Regions from separate parts of the Homo sapiens genome. Here region 2 is linked to region 1. Evidence: promoter capture Hi-C in human tissues and cell types (Jung and others, 2019). All regions are on one chromosome and are shown on one strand. Each heading gives the region's core, a stretch centred on a gene start or on the middle of the fragment in contact. The rest is flanking DNA. Distances are from core to core; before and after follow the strand shown.

Region 1 (6,505 bases), core at 680-3,179:
ATGGATGAAAATGTCCCAAGGTTGGGGGCCGGGCGCGGTGGCTCACGCCTGTAATCCCAGCACTTTGGGAGGCCGAGGCGGATGGATCACGAGGTCAGGAGATTGAGACCATCCTGGCTAACACAGTGAAACCCTGACTCTACTAAAAAATACAAAAAATTAGCTGGGTGTGGTGGCGGGCGCCTGTATCCCAGCTACTCGGAGGCTGAGGCAGGAGAATGGCATGAACCCGGGAGGCAGAGCTTGCAGTGAGCCAAGATCGTGCCACTGCACTCCAGCCTGGGTGACAGAGTGAGACTCTGTCTCAAAAAAAAAAAAACGAAGAAAATGTCCCAAAGCTAAAGTACCCCAAGGCTGGACCTAATATCTGACAAGGCAGGTTGACAAGGTGGGCAGGTTACAGAAGACTCACCAGGGGCAGAAAGTGGTTTGTCGTGTCATAGAAGATCTGGACATAGGGCAGCACCGGCAGATTGGGGTCACCAGCAGCCACAGCCACACGGAATGCCTCGGCCACACGGTGTTGCACATACATCTGTGACTTCCCTGTGCCCTCCAGCACTGCGGGCATGTAGATGCTGGGATAGAGGGCACGGCTCTGGCCCCACAGCCACCCTAGCTGGTCATTTTGGGCACGGATGCCTGATGGGCACTGGCCGGTGTAGTTGGGGCTTAGAAAGTCATAGTTGTAGCAGTCAGGGAAGCCATAGAAGCCCCAGAGGCCGCGAGGACGCAGTGCCCGCCCCAGCTGGAGGGTGCCTGCCATCCAGGCCCGTGCAGCTCCCTGGAACTGGTCCTGGGCTACTGCCTCCACCTGAGGAGCTGGCCAATCAGGGTGCTGTGCCTGTACCAGTGCCCGTGAGCGCTGCCGGTAAATGTCCTTGGTGTCCCAGTTGAAGGCCCAGCGTGGGCGCCATGCCTCCCAGTCGATGACTGCCAGCCCTGAGAAGTCAGGAGCAGGTATGGCAGCCAGGATGTCCTGGAATGTGCGGGCCAGGTGGGCAATCAGGCTGGCATTCTGGGGCAGACCACCAAACACAGGCTCCCCAGTGGGCGTGTAGTAGGGGTAGGTGCCCAGCTGGGAGCTATAGAAAATTGTCATGTCAGGGCCGCGGAAGGTCTGCCCTGGGTTGGCTACCACATCGAAGACACTGACATCCACGTCCACACCGTGCCTCTCCAGGCACCACTGGGTGTTTGCATTCCAGACGGTGGTGAAGGGCCGGTTGGGTAGCAAGGGGCCCCTAAAGCCTTGGGCCATATCGAGTAAGGTCAGGAAGAGGGCGCAGATGGGAAGCAGGTGGGCTGCCATGGCACGGGACTGGTCGAGGACAACCTGGCCAGGGGAGGCAGAGCTGAGAACAGGTTGCAAAGTCTCCGATTCCCCCACTGCTCAGGGCTGGGGGGCTGAGCCCTTGCGCATTAATCCACCGCTGCTCTGGTTTCTGTTAAACATTGACCTGCAGGGCTCCAGGAGGGCAGGGGAGACGCATGGAGGGGAGCATGGCCACTGGAGGGCACATCCGAGTTGCCTCTCAGACCAGGCCTCTGCCATCTCCCACAGGACTTGCTCTAGCCTAAGCTCGCCCACCCCTGCTTCCCCATGAGCCACTGAGGCCATGACATATGTTCTGGGAAGAGTGGCTGACAGCCAGGCCCTCAGCCCCCAGGCTGACCCGACCAAGGGGGGGAGGCCTTCCTGTCTCTTCCACCAGAAATCCTGGCAGCCACTGGAGGAAGATCCAATGGCCTCAGTGACCAAGGACAGGTCAACCCAGCCCTCCTGTACACCCGCCAGTCTGCCCGCTCGTCCCTGCTGACCTTGGGGCTGAAGGGCCTTATCCTCCAAATTTCCTGACCCCAGGATGGGGGCCTAAGCAGGGCCTGGCCAGATTCCACCCCAGCTGCACCAGAGACTCCTGGAGGAAGGAGCCGCTGCTGGAAATTCTGAGCTTTTGTAGGGGGTCACCCCACCCAGGCCAGGGGCGGGCCAAGGGGCGGGCCTTGGATTAGGAGGCCAGGCCAGCCAGGCATCAGGGCTACCTCTGAATCCCTGGCAAAGGGATCTTGGTTGGGGGTGGGGCTGGGCCAACAGTGGCCCCTCCCACGCTGTCAGCACTAGGGCAGGGCTTTGTGGCCTTACCTAGGCTGGAGGAGGTGGGCAGGGGCAGACCCTGCTGGGCAGGCCTGTTTGTGACACTGGAGACCGGGTTCTTTCGTGTCTTGTGCTCAGGGAGTGTTCTTTGTCCACGTGGCTGCATCTGACATTGATGGGCCCTAGGCACTTTACTTTCGTGGATCTTTTCCTCCTTAAAAAAAATATTTTAAAATATGGCCAGGCATGCCAGGTGCGGAGGCTCACGCCTATAATCCTAGCACTTTGGGAAGCCGAGGTGGCAGATCACGAGGTCAGGAGATCGAGACCATCCCGGCTAACATGGTGAAACCCCTTCTCTACTAAAAATACAAAAAATTAGCCGGGCGTGGTGGCAGGCGCCTGTAATCCCAGCTACTCGGGAGGCTGAGGCAGGACAATCCCTTGAACCCGGGAGGCAGAGGTTGCAGTGAGCCAAGACTGCTCCACTGTGCTACTATACTCCAGCCTGGGTGACAGAGAGCGACTCCATCTCAAAAAAAAAAAAAAAAAAAAAAATATATATATATATATATATATATATATATATATATATATATGGCTATAGTCTTAGCACTTTGGGAGGCTGAGGTGGGAGAATTGCTTGAGCCCAGGAGTTCGAGACCAGCCTAGGCAATGTAGCAAGACCCCATCTCTACAAAAAAATTAAAAATTAGCTGGGCATGGTGGTATGTACCTGTAGTCCCAGCTACTTGGGACACTGAGGCAGGAGGAGTGCTTGAGCCCAGGAGGTCATGTCTGGGTTACACTATTATATATTAATTATTAATATATTTACATTTATATTCTTCTTCTGATTAAAAAAACATTTTGTGGGCCCCTGAAAGTACTGTGGCCCTAGGCCTTGGGTCTATTGTGCTTAGTGGATAAGTCATCCCTGTTGTAGGGACCTGTTTCTGAAAGGCACTGTGTTCATGAAGTCAGGGCTGTGTCATCACCCTTTGTATATGTGCTGGGTTAGTGACTGTGTCTTTGTGAAGCCCCATTTAGTGACCATCTGAGCCTCTGCACAAATTCCAGTGGCAAGTAGGTGTGAGTGTGGAACCCAGTGCCTGGGACTGGGTGTGTGTGAGCCCTGCTGTCTTGTGAGCATGAGATCCTGTGTTTGTGTGACCATGCATATGAGCTGTCAGTGAGCACATGCTTGTTCATTCATTTGTGGTTTCACTTGTTCAATATGTGAAAGGAAAATATCTTGGGCCCCTTCAAGCTGGGAACCGCTCAGGACAAATCTGCCTCCCATTCTATTCAAGTCATCCTTTTGCTTACAGACATAGATGCATATTATGATTGCCTCCATTGCCTCTTTTGGAAAGACTACCAGAAACTCAAAAGAATGCAACCATCTGTCTGTCACCTGCCTGTGACCTGGAAGCCCCCAGTGGGGGGCCGTGCTTTGAGCTGTCTCCACCTCTCTGGACAGAGCTTATGTACTTCTGTTTTTTTTTTATTTTTATTTTTTGAGACGGAGTCTCGCTCTGTCGCCCAGGCTGGAGTGCAGTGGTGCGATCTCAGCTCACTGCAAGCTCTGCCCCCCGGGTTCATGCCATTCTCCTGCCTCAGCCTCCCGAGTAGCTGGGACTACAGGCGCCCGCCACCACGCCTGGCTAATTTTTTGTATTTTTAGTAGAGACGAGGTTTCACCGTGTTAGCCAGGATGGTCTCGATCTCCTGACCTTGTGATCTGCCTGCCTCAGCTTCCCAAAGTGCTGGGATTACAGGTGTGAGCCACCGCGCCTGGCCTAATTTTTTTTTAGATGAAGTCTCACTCTGTCGCCCAGGCTGGAGTGCAATGGCATGATCTCGGCTCACTGCAACCTCTGGCTCCCGGGTTCAAGCGATTCTCCTGCCTCAGCCTCCAGAGTAGCTGGGACTACAGGCGCGTGCCACCACACCCAGCTAATTTTTATATGTTTAGTAGAGACAGGGTTTCACCATATTGGCCAGGCTGGTCTTGAACTCCTGACCTTGTGATCTGCCCACCTTGGCCTCCCAAAGTGCTGGGATTACAGGCTTGAGCCACCACGCTTGGCTAAGGTACTTCTTACGTATTGATAGATGTCTCATATCTCCCTAAAATGTATAAAACCAAGCTGTGCCCGGAACACCTTGGGCACATGTCATCAGGACTTCCTGAGGCTGTGTCTTGGATGCATCTTCAACCTCAGCAAAATAAACTTTTTAAATTAACTGAGAGCTGTCTCAGATTTTCTGGGTTCACATTTGGTAACTATGGATGGATTCTGTGTGGAGATGTCCTTGACTTTTGACTAATTGCCTATCTGTGCTTGGTACCAGCAGGAGCTAACTTTATGGCTCAAACCAATAGGACAATTTGCTGAGGTCTGGGAGCACCCCCTCCAGAGAATCCTTGATTTCTCAATTGGTTGAGATCTAAAGTTTATTTTGCTGTACAACTCTTTTTTTTTTTTTTTTTTTTTTTGGAGTTTTACTTGCTCCCAAAAGGAAAGCAAGTTTTTCTGCTTCCATGACGATGGAAGGCAGGTAACTCCTTTATGGAGTTTGAGCTCGCTTCCAACAGGGAAAATTAGTTTTTTTTTCCTGCTTCTGGGATGGTAGAGAGCAGTCTACAGCCTGAGACCCATCACTAGGTAAGAAACTGGCTTGGGATTCTGCCTTGCAATTTCCTTTAAATGACTAAAGTTAGCATTTAACAACCAGCTGGTGTTAACTTCTGCTTACACTTACAGCACTCAGAAATCATATACTTTGTGTGATCATTGTTACTTTAGCAGCATTTTGTTCTAGCTGAAATATGGTAATAAGATTAAAAAAATTTTTTTTGGCTGGGAGTGGTGGCTCACACCCGTAATCCCAACACTTTGGGAGGCCGAGGTGGGCGGGTCACCTGAGGTCGGGAGTTTGAGACCAGCTTGGCCAACATGGTGAAACCTATCTCTACTAAAAATACAAAAATTAGCCCGGCATGGTGGTGGGTGCCTGTAATCCCAGCTACTCAGGAGGCTGAGGCAGGAGAATTGCTTCAACCTGGGAGGTGGGGGTTGCAGTGAGCCGAGATCATGCTACTGTTACTCCAGCCTCAGTGACAGAGCAAGACTCCATCTCAACAACAACAACAACAACAACAAAAACACAAAAATTATCCAGGCATGGTGGCCCACACCTATAATCCCAGCTATTCAGGAGGCTGAGGCAGGAGAATCACTTAAACTTGGAAGGCGGAGGTTGCAGTGAGCTGAGATTGCGCCACTGCCCTCTAGCCTGGGTGACAGAGCAAGACTCTGCTAAAAAAAAAAAAAAATAAGCCGGGTGCAGTGGCTCACACATAATCCTAGCACTTTGGGAGACTGAGGCAGGAGGATCATTTGAGGTCAGGAGTTTGAAACCAACCTGGCCAACATGGCGAAACCCTGTTTCTACTAAAAATACAAAAATTAGCCAGGCTTAGTGGTGTGTGCCTATAATCCCAGCTACTTGGGAGGCTGAGGCAGGAGAATCGCTTGACCTGGGAGGCAGAGGTTGCAATGAGCTGAGATCATGCCACTGCACTCCAGCCTGGGTGACAGCAAGACTCAGTCTCAAGAAAAAAATAAAAAATAAAAAATAAACCAAAATAGGGCCGGACGCAGTGGCTCACGCTTGTAATCCCAGCACTTTGGGAGGCCGAGGCGGGCGGATCACAAGGTCAGGAGATCAAGACCATCCTGGCTAACATGGTGATACCCTGTCTCTACTAAAAATACAAAAAATTAAGCTGGGCGTGGTGGTGGGCGCCTGTAGTCCCAGCTACTCGGGAGGCTGAGGCAGGAGAATGGCGTGAACCCGGGAGGCGGAGCTTGCAGTGAGCGGAGATCATGCCACTGCACTCCAGCCTGGGTGACAGAGCAAGACTCCATCTGAAAAAAAAAAAAAAAAAAAAAAAACCCAAAATAAATAAAAAGGAGGGATGTTCAGAACAAATTGGAAAGTCCAACCATGTCATGAACAGTCAGTGTAAGTCACAAAAAACCCAAAAACTTTTTTTTTTTTTTTGAGACGGAGTCTCGCTCTATCACCCAGGCTGGAGTGCAGTGGCGCAATCTCGGCTCACTGCAAGCTTGCCTCCCGGGTTCACGCCATTCTCCTGCCTCAGCCTTCTGAGTAGCTGGGACTACAGGGGCCCGCCATCATGCCTGGCTAATTTTTTTGTGTTTTTAGTAGAGACAGGGTTTCACCATGTTAGCCAGGATGGTCTTGATCTCCTGACCTCGTGATCCACCTGCCTCGGCCTCCAGAAGTGCTGAGATTACAGGTGTGAGCCACCGTGCCCGGCCAAAAACCCAAAAACTTTTATATAATCAAGTTGTCGTATACTTTTTTCTTCAGGGT
Region 2 (6,788 bases), core at 2,752-5,251, 1.4 Mb after region 1:
GGAAACCTTCCCAGCCGGGAACTGAAACCATTCCCTGGAGGGATGGGCTTGGCTTTTGAAGTTGACAGAAAGTAAATGGGTATTCTGAGAGGCAGCACATGCCTACTGTCTATCCAGTGTTCCAGGGACTGGGTCTTGCTTCTACTCAGCAGAGGCCATCATTCTGGGAGGCTGACCTGACTAGAGAAGGCTTTCTTTTATATGTGCAGTTTCTATTGTGTAGAGGGGTTGGGGGTGGGATCATGGGAAATTGGAGTGCTACCAGGTCCATGGTTTTTGCTTTTTTTTTTTTTTTTTTTTTTTTTTTTTTTTTTTAAAGAAAATAACCTGAAAACACTTCTGACTTTTCCACTGTCTCTTTATATGTGCTGATAGGCAAATGTGCATGCACACCAAACATAAGCATGTTTGTGAGGGAAGCAGGAAGTATCTCAGAGCCTAAGAACCATGTTTTATAGTTTCTTTGATCATAAACACTTGGTGGTGTCTTCCACCCATTATCCAGGCCTGAGGGGGGCAGGGTGGCTGGTGATAAGAGGGAGGGCAGAAAATCAGGCCTAGGCGTTTTCCCTTACCATTGTCTTCCATGGAATGTTTTCAAGGGCCTCTCAAGCCCCATTCATCTGGTTTAGCCAAGTTCTCAGCCTGGGGAACACAGTACTACTTAATGATTGAGGTTTACCATTTATAGTGATGCTTGATTTCCTTTTCTTAATATATTTGTAGATAAAAATTGAACAGGGACAAAGTAGCTATTTAAGAAAGGAAGTGAACCATGTTGGGTCATATCATTTTCTTTAGATTGGATATCTATGAAGTCCACACCCCTTTGAGTTATGCTTTTTAGGCATCTATCTCATCATCTCCTGATTTAAGGATAATTCTGTCTGGTCCTTGGAGCTCTCTTCCCTAGGAATTAGTGTGTGGAGTCTCTATATGCTTGTGATCCTTGGAGCTCTCTTCCCTAGGAATTAGTGTGTGGAGTCTCTATATGCTTGTGATTCACAACTAAATATGAAATTTCTCAATTCAGGAGCAGGAAGCAAAGTGCTGGGGTACAGTTTTGCAGATTGGTTGAAACACTTAGCCAAACTTAAGTGGCCTGGGTAGGACCATCACTCCCAAAGTTGTCAGCAGAGAAGGGCCCTCTGTGTGAGTCTATTCAAACCTGGCATTGCTCTGAAATTGAGTCCTCATCCCATGGGGAAGGTCTTCTGGGGGCTTTACATTCCTTGTTACTAGTGTTCTGGATATTACCTTCTGCTTCCCACTTCCTTTTTTTTTTTTTTGAGACAGAGTCTTGCTCTGTCACCCAGGCTTGAGTGCAATGGTGTGATCTTGGCTCCGTGCAACCTCCACTCCCGGTTTCAAGCGATCCTCCTGCCTCAGCCTCCCAAGTAGCTGGGATTACAGGTGCACACCACCATGCCCAGCTAATTTGTATATTTTTTAGTAGAGACGGGGTTTCACCACGTTGGCCAGGCTGGCCTTGAACTCCTGACCTCAAGTGATCCACCCTCCTCGGCCTCCCAGTGATGGGATTACAGGCGTGAGCCACTGCTCCTGGCCCCCACTTCCTTTTGATTTCTCAGATCAGTCTTTCCCTTCTGAGCCATGGCCTTCTGTGCACCCAGCTCAGTGGCTCTTCACCCCTAAAACTAAGTGAAGTCATCCTTCCCCAAAAGGACCCCTGGGAGATGTTCTGGCCCTCTGCTGACTACTCCCAGGAATCAGCACCTCAAGGACTATTTGAGAATGTTGTGCTCTCTATTGGTCACCTTGAGACTCCGTTCCCCTGCTGCCAACTCTTCTCTTCTGCCCTGTGTATTCTGCTGTGATCCCCTTAACGGCTTTTCTGTGCTACTAGCTTAGCCCTAGGCCTTTTATGAATACCTGAGTCTTATAACAATGAACTTCTTGAGCAGGCAGTGTCCAACTTCTTTGCTCTTCAGGGACCTGAGTGTGCACCTTTCCCTTTTGCAGGTCTATTTGACATAGTAATCTAGTGTGTTGGGGAGGGGTAGCCAAGCAGGCTGCAGTGTCTGCAATGCAGAGGGCTTGGGGAGGTTTGGGTACTCTCTGCTGCCACTACTGGGATGATATTCAGAAGAGAGAGGACCTCATACTGTGACTGGACCCAGGACCCTCCCTGGAAGAGAGCTCAGCCCAGCTGTGTGTGTGTGTGTGTGTGAGTGTGTGTGTGTGTGTTTGTGTGCTGTGCTCATGTGCACCTGGGTGTAAAATGACTGTTATCTGGTTGTGTTACTCAGGGTGGGCTGGGGACTCACCAGAAGAATCCCCCCCAGCCTGCCCAAGACAGGTTTTTCCCTTGTACCATCTTCAGAGAGGTCAGGGGAAGAGGGTCCAGGTGGGTTAAGGGGGGTCGCTATGGATAACCACTAAGACCAGACTGCTGCCAGGAGGAGTGGGGGATAATGAGGTGGCCCCAGGGTCCTGGCACCTGGCTTTGGTTTTCCGTCTTCTTTCCTCAGGACGCCCCTGAGGCCTGGGACCTGTGCCTGGCTTCGAGGAGCATCTGTGGCTGGGTGATCCAGCTGCTGGTGTGATCATGGGCTTCCCTCCTCTCAGCAGGGCAGGCGCTCCTGCCCCAGAGACTGGGCAACTGGCTGTTTCTATGACGTATTTATTTTTACTTGTGTTTCATGTCACTTTTTTAAAAAAAAGCAAACAGAACAATTGTAAGTCAGTATAACTGCCTATCAGTTTTCTTTATTTCTCTTTTTGTAAAATAAAATTTAAACTCAAGAAGGCAGTGTTGTTTGATCAAGGAATTGTCTGGATAGTTGTTTGGCTGGGTGGTGGTGAAAGGAATAGATCTTAGAACATAGTGGGCTCTGGGATAGCCCTTGGGTGATGAGATAGGCAGGAACAGAAGGAAGACTGATGGCAGGCTCTTTGTTGCAGTGGGGTTCACTGGGCTTTTTCTGCTTTTGTTCACCTGAAGAAGGATGTATTACCAGGCTCCAGGGGAAACAGCAAGCTGACTTCAGAGTGGCTTGAAGCTAGCTGGTCCTCAGCCAAGGCAAGTCCTGCAGGGGCAGCCCTGACTAGACAGTGAGTGGCTGGGGATTGGGCACAATGCCTTCAGAGGGTGGGAGACAGTGTGTCTGTGAGTGGCTGGTGGCAGCGAAAACATTCTTATTGCATGTGTATTCTCTGTCATCCATGTTGGGGAATCTAGCCACTGGCCCACAGAGTTAAACAGAGCTTTGGAGTGTGAGAGGTGGGGGAAAGAAGGGACAGTCTACTCCAGCTTCCTGTTTAATTTCTTCAAGGGGAGGGGCCCTGGGGAAACAATTTTCTGGAAATTTACAAAGAAGGATAGAGAAAGAATCTCTGTAGTGATTCCTTGGACAGAGGAAGGCAAGAGGAGATGAAGGCCAAGTCTGGACTCATGATAGGGGAATCTGTGCTATTGGGAGATAAGATTGGGAGTGGAGGATGGTTGCAGCACATGGCTGGGCGAACAGGTTTCCTCAGACCTGTTACAAGGGGTTGGAATGAAGAAAGTGCCTTGTAGAGTAGGCTGCTGCCTCCTGGTGGCCAGCCGCTGCCTTGCAGGGATCCTGCCAAGGGACCTCACTTGGCACTGTTGGAAGCAGCCTGAGGTGAAGCTGGGCAGGCTGATGTCATGGCCTGCAGCCCCAGTCACCAGCGGACTCTCCTCCCACAAAAGAGGTGCTGAAGCTCCTGAGGCACATGTTGAACTCTGATGTGGGGCTCTAGAGTTCCCCAATCAGGCTAAGGGAAGTGAGCAGAGAGAACAAGATAAAGAATGGGCACTTCCTTATAATGGTTTCCTGGGAAAAGCTCACCACCTTCTGAGAAGCAGGAGAAATGACCACGCAGACCCTGCAGGCAGAGGCTGTCAGTCTCTGAGCCCGGGCCATGGCTGCTCCTTGTGTCAAAGGAAATGCTACCAAGTGTGTAGCCCGCCTGCCTGGGGCACCTAAGCTGAGGGTTTGACCATGTGCTTGATGTTCATAGGTAAAACAACTGCTGCGACCTGCACTGGCCCAGCCCGGAGTGCCTGTGAGGGGCCAGCTGCCTGTTCTGCCAGTTTGCCTAGAGGGCTGGGACAGGCTTGGCCCTGTGGATAAGGTTCAAACTCCCCTGCCTGCGGAAGGAAGAATGTGAAGCAGAGGGAAAGGAAGCTGGGATTTTGACTGTCTCTGTGTGCCCAGCCTGCTCTTTGCTGGTGCAGTAGTGGGATCCACAAGGTGAACCACCCTGTGACTGCTGACTTTTCCCACCACCACCTTCGTGGTGTTCCCATCTGCTGGATCCCCCTCCCAAACATCAGTCCTTGTCAGGATACCAAAGTAGCTCTTGGCCTCGCCGGTCTTGTAGCCAAGCTTATGAGCATAGTTGTCACCTTCCCCACCTCCCACCAAAAGTCCGGGATTTTCACGAGGGGAGCGTTTTATCTTTGGGCCCCTAGAAGAGTGCTTTGTAGTTTGTAGGTCCTCAGAAATTTGAGGTGAAGATTGAACCAATCATCAAGGAGCTTACACTTGACGTGGGAATCACGTAAGTTACCGCTAAACCACAAAGGTAGACCAGCCTCCCACAGCCACAACCTGGGCACTGAGGGAGGAGCCTGGAAGAAGGGCATTCCCATGGAACGTGAACTCCAGGAGGGCAGAACCTTGGTTTTGTTCACTCTATCCCCAGCCCCTAGAACTGTCCTGGCAAGGAGTAATAATAAGTGTTGGATGGATGAATATACTCACGGAAGTGGGAATGGGTGGGTGGAGGCAGGAAGCAGATATTTGCGCTATGCAGAAGTTGGATCCACCAGTTTCTTCCGCGAGCCCAGACTGGGCTTCAGCTTCCTCACCTATGCCTTTCTTGGTTCCCAAGTCTGTTGCGAAGCCACAGTGAGAGAAAGTGGCAGGACTAAAGGTGGTACAAATGCCAGAGGCTGATACTGCTGTGCTGCGCCTCCCTAGGCTGTACAAATTCTCCTCAGCCCCAGCTCCCTGGTCCCCAGCCTGGCCCTCTACTGCGGGCCACTGGGCTGCCTCCCGTACCCGAGCCTGGGCCAGGCTGTCACTGTGGTGCTCCTGCCAACCCAGATGCCCTGGGGTGTTGCTAAATCAACCTCAGCAACCGGATAGTTTGTTGGAGGCGGGAAGGTACGCCGTGGGTTCCGCCGCAGCCAGCGCTGGGGCTAGGCACACGCCCGTTGCCATGGAGACGGGGCGGGGCAGGCCTCCGCCCTCCGGGTCCCGCGCGCACGCGCCCACGGCCACGGCCATGTCCCGCCGCGAGAGGGGGCGGAGCGAGCGTGCGCGGCGGGCGCGCGCAGGCTCCGTAACCGAACCCTGAGCCGCCTGCGCGGATCGGCGTCCGCAGCGGGCGGCTGCTGAGGTGAGGGCCGGGCCAGAGGAGAGGCATACCCACTGGGGCGTAGGTCTGGGACTCCCCCTGTCCGCCCTGGCGCGACCTCAGGACTCTCCGTGTCCCCTCCGTGACCCCCGCGGCCCGGGCCGCTCTTTGCATCTTGTCTTGCCCACAGCTGGCCTCGGCCAGGTCCGAGGGCCTGGATGCGACCTTGGGGCAGCCCCTACTCTTCCGGGCAGCCCACTTCCGCGGCCACCGGTGCAGGGCATGCCCCGGGGCCGTGGAGGTGAGGGAAAGAGGCGCGAGTCGCGTTTTAACTCCGCCCCCGTCCCCCAAGGCCGCGCCTCGCAGCCTGGGCTGCAAACTTTAGCGTCCTTTAAGTTACAGACGTGCGTGGGGCTCCGTGAGGAGGTGGGCGAAGAGAAAGGCTCTGAGTAAATAGGCAAGGCCCGGGGTGAGCAGGGGCTGGAATCCGAAAGTGGGAGGCGGCGGCCCCCCACCCTCCATAGTCCTTCCGCCCTCTGCTAGCACCGAAGTTTAGCCCAGGACGGGGGCCGTTTAAGGGCCCGGCCCTCCGCCGCCGCGCACGTGAGCGGCACCAGGAAGCTGGCTGGGCGCAGCCTTCCCTGAGGCTCGCTGGCACCGGCCGCACGCGTCCATCCCGGGCCTCTGAGCGGAGGGGGAGCCGAGGCTAGAGGGAGGGCGCAGTCTGCCCAAGGTCAGCGGCAGCGGCAGTTTCTGGGCGCCAAGTGTGATTGGAGTACTCCAGGAAGAGGGGCGTGACCAGAGCTCTAGCGAAGAGACCTGACATTGTAAAGCTAGGTTTGGCTTCTGATTTCCACAGGGGGTTTGAGAATGGGACGAGGGTGCTTTAGAGGGACCGGTAGGCTTTCCCTGAGGACGGTAATCAGGGCATGATGGTTGGCTCAGTGGTTATTTCCTGGGCAGGGGTGACTGTTCTTTCAGCTCCCAGCACTGGAGCGCTCGGCCCCTGCCGCACTGGATGCCAGCAGTTACTAAAAGTGAGCCTGGCATTTCAGGTGAGCTCCCAGACCTTCTTCCTTTTCTCTTGAATATAGGGGAAATTCACGTTACCTCTCCACGTGCCGACCAAGGCTCTGAGACCCCCAGGTGGGTTTTCTTCCCCCCCGCCGTTTTCTGAGCAGTTTGGGAAGTGAGAGGAAGAGAAAGGTAGATACTAAGTTTCCTTGAGGAGACAGGAAGTGTTCAGCTGAGATGGCAGATCAGGGTGAGGGCTTGTCATTCCCAAGGCAAGTGGGGGCCTAGATGCTGAGAGTTTTCCAGCTTTGGGCTCAGAGATGTCCAACAAGGATTTAATGCTTCAGGCGTTTTGGAAGCCAGTCACCAGAGAGGAGAGAGAAAGTGGAAATGAGGGGCTGGAATCAGACTGTCTGGGCTTG

What was found. Contacts are between HindIII fragments. The study calls those that stand out against the background at their distance.
Region 2: a contact is called between a fragment that was not itself captured here and the fragment with the promoter of HYAL1 in region 1, in 1 of the 25 tissues and cell types used here (dorsolateral prefrontal cortex).

The regions. Positions count from the first base shown.
Region 1 is chr3:50,301,645-50,308,149 of GRCh38, forward strand. It overlaps HYAL1 (hyaluronidase 1), which reads right to left and starts at 1,930. Exons shown (of 4, transcript NM_033159.4): 1 at 1,822-1,930; 2 at 413-1,336. The coding sequence starts at 1,312. RefSeq lists enhancers at 1,414-2,348, 2,166-2,335. The HindIII fragment of the contact is 11,854 bases long and covers 117-6,505 here.
Region 2 is chr3:51,665,895-51,672,682 of GRCh38, forward strand. RAD54L2 (RAD54 like 2) reads left to right here. Exons shown (of 23, transcript NM_015106.4): 23 at 1-2,766. It overlaps LOC124906237 (a long non-coding RNA gene), which reads right to left and starts at 5,211. Exons shown (of 2, transcript XR_007095907.1): 1 at 4,755-5,211; 2 at 2,723-3,762. It overlaps TEX264 (testis expressed 264, ER-phagy receptor), which reads left to right and starts at 5,358. Exons shown (of 5, transcript NM_015926.6): 1 at 5,358-5,394. RefSeq lists a silencer at 5,094-5,523. The HindIII fragment of the contact is 4,028 bases long and covers 1,988-6,015 here.